Regions from separate parts of the Homo sapiens genome. Here region 2 is linked to region 1. Evidence: promoter capture Hi-C in 16 types of primary human blood cells and fetal thymus (Javierre and others, 2016). All regions are on one chromosome and are shown on one strand. Each heading gives the region's core, a stretch centred on a gene start or on the middle of the fragment in contact. The rest is flanking DNA. Distances are from core to core; before and after follow the strand shown.

Region 1 (4,564 bases), core at 870-3,369:
AAATTTAAAGTAGTTTTCACAAGATCAGCTACAGCCAACTTTTACAGCAAACGGTTAGGCTGTTCCTCCTGTGGTAGTAGGAGGCAGGGTTTTTTTTTTTTTTTTTTTGAGATGGAGTCTCAGTCTGTCACCCAGGCTGGAGTACAGTAGCGTGAACTGCAACCTCTGCCTCCAGGTTCAGGTGATTCTCCTGCCTCAGCCTCCTGAGTAGCTGGGATTACAGGTGCCCACCACCACACCCAGCTAATTTTTGTATTTTTAGTAGAGATGGCATTTCACCATGTTGGCCAGGCTGGTCTCAAACTCCTGATCTCAAGTGATTCACCTGCCTCAGCCTCCCAAAGTGCTGGGATTACAGGTGTGAGTCACCGAACCCGGCCCTCTTTGCCCATTTTTAAATTGGGTTATTTATTTTCTTACTATTGAGTTCTTTATGTGTTATGGATATTAACCATTTATCAGTTGTGTGGTTTGCAAATATTTTCCCCCAGTCTGTAGGTTGTCTCTTCACTCTGTTAATTATTCCTTTATTGTGCAGAAGCTTTTTAGTTTGATGCAATTCCATTTGTCTGTTTTTGTTTTTGTTGCTTGTGCTTTCAGGATCATATAAAAAAATCATTGCCCAGACCAATGTCATGAAGCTTTCCCTCTACGTTTCCTTCTAATAGTTTATAGTGTTAGATCTTACATTTAAGCCTTTAACTCACTTTTTAATTTTTTTATTTTTTAATTTAATTTTATTTTAGATGGAGTCTCTCTCTATTGCCCAGGCTGGAGTGCAGTGGCACGATCTCAGCTCACTGCAACCTCCACCTCCCGGGTCCCAGCGATTCTCCTGCCTCAGCCTCCCAAGTAGCTGGGATTACAGGCCTCCGCCACCATGCCTGGCTACTTTTTTGTATATTTAATAGAGACGGGGTTTCACCATGTTGGCCAGGCTGGTCTTGAACTCCTGATCTAAGGTAATCCACCCGCCTCAGTCTCCTAAAGTGCTGGGATTACAGGCGTGAGCCACTGCACCCGGCCCAGCACTTTTGATTTTTGTATTTGGTTTGAGATAAAGGCTCAGTTTCATTCTTTTGCCTGTGGATATCCAGTGTTCTTAACACCATTTGTTAAAAAGACTGTCCTTTCCCCATTGTATGCCCTTGGCACCTTTGTTGAAAATTAGTTGATTGTTGGCCGGGCGCGGTGGCTCATGCCTGTAATCTCAGCACTTTGGAAGGCTGAGGCGGGTGGATCATGAGGTCAGGAAATCGAGACCGTCATGGCTAACAAGGTGAAACCCCGTCTCTACTAAAAATACAAAAAATTAGCCGGGCGCGGTGGCGGGCGCCTGTAGTCCCAGCTACTCGGGAGGCTGAGGCAGGAGAATGGCGTGAACCCGGGAAGCAGAGCTTGCAGTGAGTCGAGATTGCGCCACTGCAGTCCGCAGTCCGGCCTGGGCGACAGAGCGAGACTCCGTCTCAAAAAAAAAAAAAAAAAAAAAAAAAAAAAAAAAAAAAATTAGCCAGGCATGGTGGTGGGCACCTGTAGTTCCAGCTACTCGGGAGGCTGAGGCAGGAGAATGGGGGAACCTGGGAGGAAGAGGTTGCAGTGAGCCTACATCATGCCACTGCACTCCAGCCTGGGTAACAGAGCAAGACTCCGTCTGGAAAAAAAAAAAAAAGAAAAGAAAATTAGTTGATTGTAAATGCATGGGTTCATTTCTGAGCTCTGTATTCTGTTCCATTGGTCAATGTCTCTGTTTTTATGTCAGTGTCATGCTGTTTTGCTGAGTATACCTTTGTGGTGTATTTTGATGTCAGGTAGTGTGATACCTCTACCTTTGTTGTTTATGCTCAAGATTGTCTTGGATATTTGAGGTCTTTTGTGACTTCATATTAATTTTAGTATTGTTTTTTCTATTTCTGTAAGAAATGCCATTGGGATTTTGGTAGGAATTACATTGACTCTATCGATCACTTTGAATAGTATGGACCTTTAAAAATATTCTTTCAATCCATAATATGGGATATCTTTCCATTGATTTTTGTCTTAACTTTCTTTCGTCAATGTTTTATAGTTTTAGTGTGCATATTTTTCACCTTCTTGGTTAAATTAACTTGTAAGCATTTTATTTTTTGATGCCATTGTAAATAGGATTAATTTCTTTTTCAGATAGTTTGTTGTTAGTGTATAGAAACAAATAATTTTTGTATGTTCATTTTGTATTCCATGACTTTACTAAATTTGTTTATTAAATTTGATAACTTTTTCGTAGAGTATTTATAACAAGTTTCTTATATATAAGATCATGTCAATTGCAAACAGGGACAATTTTTTTTTCTTTATTTCTAACTTGAATGCATTTCTTATCTTTTTCTTGCCCAATTGCTCTGGCTAGGACTTTCAGTACTGTGTTGAAATAGAAGTGGTGAGTGTGGGCATCCTTGCCTTGTTCCTAATTTTAGTGGTAAAATCAAATTTTCACCACTGGGTATGATGTTAACTAGACACTTTTTTTAATGTTCTTTATCATGTTGATGTAATTTCCCTGTATTTCTAGTTTGTTGAGGGTTTTTAATCATGAGTGGCTATTCCTGTGGCCTGAATGTTTGTGTCCTCCCCAGATTCATATGTTGAAGCCTAATTCCTTGTGTGATGGTATTTGTAGATGGGACCTTTGGAAGGTGTTTAGGTCATGAGAGTGTGGCCATCATTAATAGGATTAGTGCCCTTAGACAAAAGCAAAATGATGGTTGCCTATGAACCAGAAAATAGGCTCTCACCAGATATTGAATCTGCTTGCACCTTGATTTTGGATGTCACAAGTCTTCAGAACTATGAGAAATAAATTTCTATTGCTTATAACCCATCCAGTCTATGTTATTTGTTATACCAAATAAGCTAAGACAGATGTTTAGTTTTATTAAATGCTTTCTTTTCTTATTGATAAGATCATGTTATTTTTATTCCTTATTCTGTTAATGTGGTGCATCACATTTATTGATTTGCATATGTTGAGCCATCCTTGCATGCCAGGAATAAAGCCCACATGGTCATGGCGTATGACCCTTTTGTGCTATTGAATTCAGTTTGCTAGTATTTTATTTAGGATTTTGGATCTATGTTCAATAGGGAAATTGGCATGTAGTGATCTTTTCTCATGGTGTGTTTGTTGGGATTTAGTGTCAGGATAGTGCTTGCCTCATACAATAAGTTTGGAAGTATTCCCTCCTCTTCAGTTTTTTGGATGAGTTTGAGAAGAATTCATATTAATTCTTATTTAAATGTTTGGTTGGTAGAATTTGCCTGAGAAGCCACCAGGTCCTGGGCTTTTCTTTGTTAGGAGGTCTTTGATTACTGATTCAATTTCCTTACTCATTATAGATCTGTTTAAACTTTCTATTGCCTTATGATTCAGGCTTGGTAGGTTGTATATTTCTAGGAATTTATCCATTCCTTCAAGGTTATCAAGTTTGTTAACATATAATTGTTCATAGTAGTCTCTTAATGATCCTTTTTATTGCTATGGCATCAGTTGTATGTTCTTTCATTTATAATTTTACTTATCTGTTGTTTCTGTTTTTTCTCCCTTTTTCCTTGGTCTACCTAAAAGCTTGTCAGTTCTTTTTTTTTTTTTTTTTGAGATGGAGTCTCACTCTGTTGCCCAGGCTGGAGTGCAGTGGCATGATCACAGCTCACTGCATTCTCCACCTCCCAGGTTCAAGTGATTCTCCTGCCTCAGGCTCCTGAGTAGCTGGCATTACAAGCACGTGCCACCACACCTGGCTGATTTTCGTATTTTTAGTAGAGACAGGGTTTCACCATGATGGCCAGGCTGGTTTTGAACTCCTCATCTCAGGTGATCCACTTGCCTCGACATCCCAAAGTGCTGGGATTGCAGGCGTGAGCCACTGCACCTGGCCAAAGCTTGTCAATTCTATCTTTTTGAAAAATCAACTTAATTTCATTGATTTTTTTCTATTCTCTATTTGATTTATTTTTCTGTAATCTTTATTATTTTCTTCCTTCTACTAACTTTAGGTTTAGTTTGTTCTTTTATTTCTCATTTCTTGAGGTGTAAAGTTAGGTTTTGTAATTGAAATTTGTCTTTTTGTTTTAAAATTAGGTGTTTATCCCGAACTTTCCTTTAGTACTGCTTTTGCTGCCTCCCATTAAGTTTGGTATATTGTGTTTTTGTTTTCATTTATCTCATGTTATTTTCTAATTTATTTTTTTATCCATTAGTTGTTCAATGGTGTATTGTTTAATTTTTACATATGTATGTTTTTTTCCAGTTTTTCTTCTGGTATTGTTTTTAGTTTCATTCCATTGTGGTTGGAAAAGATTCTTGATATAATTTAAATCATTTCAAATTTGTTAAGACTTGTTTTGTGACCTAACATGTGGTCTGTCCTGGGGAATGGTCCATGTGCACTTGAGAAGAATGTATATTCTGCAGTAGTTGGCTTGTGTATTTTGTATATGTCTGTTAAGTCCATTTGGTCCATTCTCCCTTGGGTTTTTTTTTTGTCTAGTTGTTCTATTTGCTATTGAAAGTAGGATTTTGAAGTTTCTT
Region 2 (4,946 bases), core at 715-3,214, 180 kb before region 1:
TACATCAGGCCACACACTTGTTTACCCGGGACCTTGGCTGATCCAGGTCACTCTACCTGGTATGCCCTTCCCCATCCTTACTGTCTGGCAAACTTCCCTTTGCCTGTGGATGCTTGATTGGAACAGCAGCCCCTCCGTAGACAGGCGGGCTTCTGCTGGCTGAGTTGGGCATTGCCTCCGAGCCCAGCACCCCCCAACCTCCACCATGCTCCCCGATGCTGCCCAGTCTCACAATTGTTCCGGAGTCCACAACTGTGTCTGTTTCCACCACACCAATCTGGGCATTCCCTAGGGGCAGATTCTCATGTCTGCAGTGCCTGTGGCGTCGTGGACATATATTCAACAAACCAACAGCAGAACTGGGCTCCTGTGATGTGAATGTCTAGTTTCCAGGACAGCCCCAGCCCCACCCCCATTGAGGCCACTTTGGAGTGGAGCCCAACTGCTCTTCACAAAGTCATCTAGGAGCAGAGAAAATTGCAGACCAGATCTTTCTCTCCCTTATCATCATGACAATAGCCACTATTTAGAGAGCCTAGCGGCTGTGCCAGGCCCTGGAGGGGCTTTCGCTTCCTCATCTCCCTGCATCCTCTCCACAGCCCCAGGAGACGGACATGACCAGCTTCATTTTAGAGGTGAGGAGTCTAAGGCTTAGAGAAGTGGGGGGACTTGGCCAATGACACACAGCCAGTGCATGGGGAAGCCAGGATTGAAAGCCGGTCTGACTCAGAGCTGGGTTGGGTGCCTTCCAAGAAAGGAGACCCTTGGTTTGGTTCCCTCAAAACCACCTCCAGGATGGGAACGGTGGCTCACACCTGTAATCCCAGCACTTTGAGAGGCCAAGGCAGGAGGATCGCTTGAGCCCAGGAGTTCAAGACCTGCCCGGCCAACATAGTGAGACCCACATCTCTACCAAACAAAAACAAAAACAAAAACAAAACACAACTAGCTGGGTGTGATGGCATGCACCTGTAGTCCCAGCCACTAGGGAGGCTGAGGTGGGGAGGTGGGAGGATCACGTGAGCCCGGGAGGCTGGATCACTGAGACTGCAGTGAGCTGCGATCGGGCCACTGCACTCCAGCCTGGGTGACGACAGACCCAGACCCTGTTTCAAAAGACAAAAACCAAACCAAAAAAACCACCTCGATTGCCCCACTTTGGGAGTCAGACGTGGATCTGAATCCCAGCTGCACCTTCACTGGCAGTGTGCCCTGGGCAAGTCCCTGCTTCTCTGCCCATAAGGTGAGGGCTAAAACCCCCCACTCTGGGAGCCCTAAGAGAATCTAGTTGGAAGGCAGCCCAGCTGAAGGCCAGGCACTGGTTAAACCCCAGGGGAATCCGATCCAAGTCACCTCCCCCTCCCCTCCTCCCTCTCCGAGGAAAGTCTCACCTTCTGCCCCTTCCGCTCCTAGAAAGAAAGAGAAAGAGGAGGGGTGAGTAGGGAAGACTCGGGTTCCCTGACCCCTTAGTACCCACCACTGCTCCAGAGGGCTGGCCCCTTCCCTGACAGAGCCAAGGTGGGAAAGAGAGGCCAAGAGCTAGGGAGGCCGGGGGTTTTCTTGGGCCCCAGACAAGGGCACACCCCAGAAAATGATCACGCCGGCTCCCTCCAGTGCATTGTCCCCACCCTGCCCCCACGTCCTCACTTACCTGTCCCCGACCGGAGTAATCCAAGATAGAGCAGAATGGCCACAGCCCCCAGCTGCCCAGGCCCCAGGACCCCCTTCTGGGCCATGGCCCAGGACAAGGGCCCCTGGGGCAGACTCCAGGCACGCAAGGTAGGAAGCCTTGGGGTGGTGTCGAAGGCAGGACCCAGATGTTGGCTCAGAGGGAAGGATCCCAGAATCCGGGCTGGAAAGGGGCAGCAAGTGTCCAAGGCTGGCCTCTAAGGCAGGGAGCGGCCGCAACGGGAGACGCCTGGAGTATCCGAAGCGAGCAGTGTGGACGAGTCACCAGCACCGTCTGGCCACGCAGGGTCCTCCCAGGAGTGGCTGCACCTACCTGCCCGCCCCTCCCCTGGCCCCGCCCACTGGCTGGGCTCCGCCAGCTCCTCTTGCCACCAAAGTCATGAGTCCTTTCAGAGCTGCAGGCCCGTGTGTGTGCATGTATGTGTCCGTGTGTATGTGTGTGCACATGCATAGGCCTTTTGTGTGTGTGTCCCGGTGTGTAGTGTGTATGTGGTGTGTGTGTATGCCTGTGTAGGCTGTGTGTGTCCTCTTATGTGGTGTGGTATGTGTGTGTGTGTGCATGTACAGGCTGTATGTGCACATGTGTAGGCTGTGTGTGTCCCTGTGTGTGTAGTGTGTGTGTCTGAGTGTGCGTGCATGCACGTGCATGTGGTTTGTGTGTGTGTGCAGTCTCCCTGGAATGTGACGACTCTCCTCCGCCTCAGGTCTTTCAGGTTATCTCAGGCCAGTTATGCCCCCCAGGGCCTGGCCCCAGCTTTTATTATCTGGAGCCACAGCCACTCCTCCCTTCTTCCCTCCCTCCTTAGGCTGGTTATGGGAGCTTAAGACACTATGGTCTGTCCCCTGCCAGGCCCTTTCTGCGATGCCTGCACCTCATGGGTGGTGGCGAGCTTGTGGAGCAGCACCAATCATCCCACAGACATTTCCTAAGTGCCTATGATGTTCCCAGGTGTCCAGGACAAAACAGGCACCAGCCCCGTCCCCCTTGAGCCCTGAGCTCATGGTGAAGTAGGGGTGACACACTTCAATCAAATAATCACAAACAGGCTGGCAAGGTGGCTAGTCGGCTTTGGGAGGCTGAGGCTGGAGCATCACTTGAAGCCAGGAGTTCCAGACCAGCCTGGGGAATATAGCGAGGCCTCATCTCTACAAAGAAATATAAAAATTAGGCAGGCATTGTGGCGCATGCCTATGGTTCCAGCTATTTGGGAGGCTGAGGCAGGAGGATTGCTTGAGCCCAGGAGTTCAACGAAGCATTGAGCTATGATCACGCCACTGCACTCCAGCCTGGGCAACAGAGGGAGACCCTGTCTTAAAAAAAAAAATTGCAATTACACAATAATTTCAAGCTAGGAATAGTGATGAAAAAGAATGGCGTGAGCACACCACAGCCTGGCAAAGGCTGGCATTGTGAAAGGGTCCTCGAGGAATTGCCTTGGAAACTGAGACCGAAAGGGATTATAAAAGGTGGTAAGGCGAAGATGGGGGGATGGGGTGCAGAGGGCAGAGGCTCAGGGAAAGAAGGCTTGCCGTGTGGCTGCGGTGGGAGTGAGGCATGTATCCTCCTTGAGGGCCACTCTGGCCGTTCAAAACACCTGTTGAGGCTGGGTGTGGTGGCTCACGCCTCTAATCTCGGCACTTTGGGAGGCCAAGGCACACGAATCACGAGGTCAGGAGTTTGAGACCATCCTGAACAACATGGTGAAACCCCATTTCTACTAAAAATACAAAAATTAGCCAGGCGTGGTAGCACGCACCTGTAATTCCAGCTACTCAGGAGGCTGAGGCAGGAGAATCGCTTGAACCCAGGAGGTGGAGGTTGCAGTGAGCCGAGATATTGCGCCATTGCACTCCAGCCTGAGCGACAGAGCGAGACTCCGTCTCAAAAAACAAACAAACAAAAAAAATTGTGGAGCTTGGATGTGGTGGCTCACACCTATAATCCCAGCACTTTGTGAGGCCAAGGTGGGAGGATCATTCTCAAGATCAGGAGTTTGAGACCAGCTTGGCCAACATGGTAAAACCCCGTCTCTCCTAAAAAATACAAAGAAAATTAGCCAGGCGTGGTGGCGCATACCTGTAATCTTAGCTACTCGGGAGGCTGAGGCAGGAGAATTGCTTGAACCTGGGAAGCCAAGATTGTGCCACTGCACTCCAGCCTGGGCAACAGAGGGAGACTCCATCTCAAAATAAATAAATAAATAAAATAAATAGGCCAGATGCAGTGGCTCACGCCTGTAAATCCCAGCACTTTGGGAGGCTGAGGTGGGCGGATCATCTGAGGTCAGGAGTTCAAGACCAGCCTGGCCAACATAGAGACACCCCACCTCTACTAAAAATACAAAAATTAGTTGGGCATGGTGGTGGGCACCTGTAATCCCAGCTTCTCAGGAGGCTGAGGCAGGAGAATTGCTTGAACCTGGGAGGTGAAGGTTGTAGTGAGCCGAGATTGCGCCATTGAACTCCAGTGTGGGCGACAATAGCAAAACTCTGTCTCAAAAAATTAAAAATAAATAAGTTAAATAAAAATACAAAAATTAGTCCGGCATGGTGTCTTGAGTCTGCAATCCTAGTTACTTGAGTCTGAGGCAGGAGGATCGCTTGAACCCAGGAGGTGGAGGTTGCAGTGAGCCGAGATTGCACCACTGCACTCCAGCCTGAGCATCAGTATGAGACTCTGTCTCAAAAAAAAAAAAGTGGAGATGGGGGTCTTGCTTTGTTGCCCGGGCTGGTCTGGAATGCCTGGCCTCAAGCGATCCTCCCAAAGTGCTGGGATTACAGGCATGAGCTGCCGCACCTCGTCTCTGGTTTTGCGTTACTTTTTAATTGTAGATTCATTGGCTGGAAACCACCTTCCCTTTTTCTGTGCTCAAACATCACTGCTATGACATCTTCCCAATCCCAGCCAGGGATGTCCACATGTGTCCCCACTAGATTGGGAGGACTTTGTGGGCTTATATATCAGACCCCAATTGTGCCACGACTTAGTAGCCACCAGGGAACACGGGTTGAATGAATGCAGGGAGGTGCAGGTAAGCAGTGGGTAAGGGAGTGAGGTTCACATATAAGGGACCCAAGTTCTGGGCAGAATGTGAAAGTGGCAGACCCTTGAAGGGCCCAAGTGTTGTGTGTGTGCAGGGGATACATCGGAGCATTGTGCATTGAGGTGTGTCTATGGCGGGCAGCGAGGGCAGCGGGTCTGAGCAGGGGATGAGATGTCCAGCACGTGCCGAGGGTGCTGACTCCACTGGGCAGGT

The links. The method cuts DNA at HindIII sites, captures the fragments that hold promoters and counts their contacts. A CHiCAGO score of 5 or more calls a contact.
Region 2: the fragment with the promoter of PRSS8 here is called in contact with a fragment that was not itself captured in region 1 in 2 of 17 cell types (neutrophils and monocytes); the score reaches 6.0 in neutrophils.

What each region holds. Positions count from the first base shown.
Region 1 is chr16:31,314,733-31,319,296 of GRCh38, forward strand. The region is part of intron 14 of ITGAM (integrin subunit alpha M); the gene reads left to right. Among named protein-coding and RNA genes, the nearest start is that of ITGAX, 38 kb to the right of the region's middle. The HindIII fragment of the contact is 2,960 bases long and covers 640-3,599 here.
Region 2 is chr16:31,133,763-31,138,708 of GRCh38, forward strand. PRSS8 (serine protease 8) reads right to left here and starts at 1,965. Exons shown (of 6, transcript NM_002773.5): 1 at 1,652-1,965; 2 at 1,392-1,409. The coding sequence starts at 1,736. RefSeq lists enhancers at 80-1,026, 4,714-4,946. The HindIII fragment of the contact is 17,481 bases long and covers 1-4,946 here.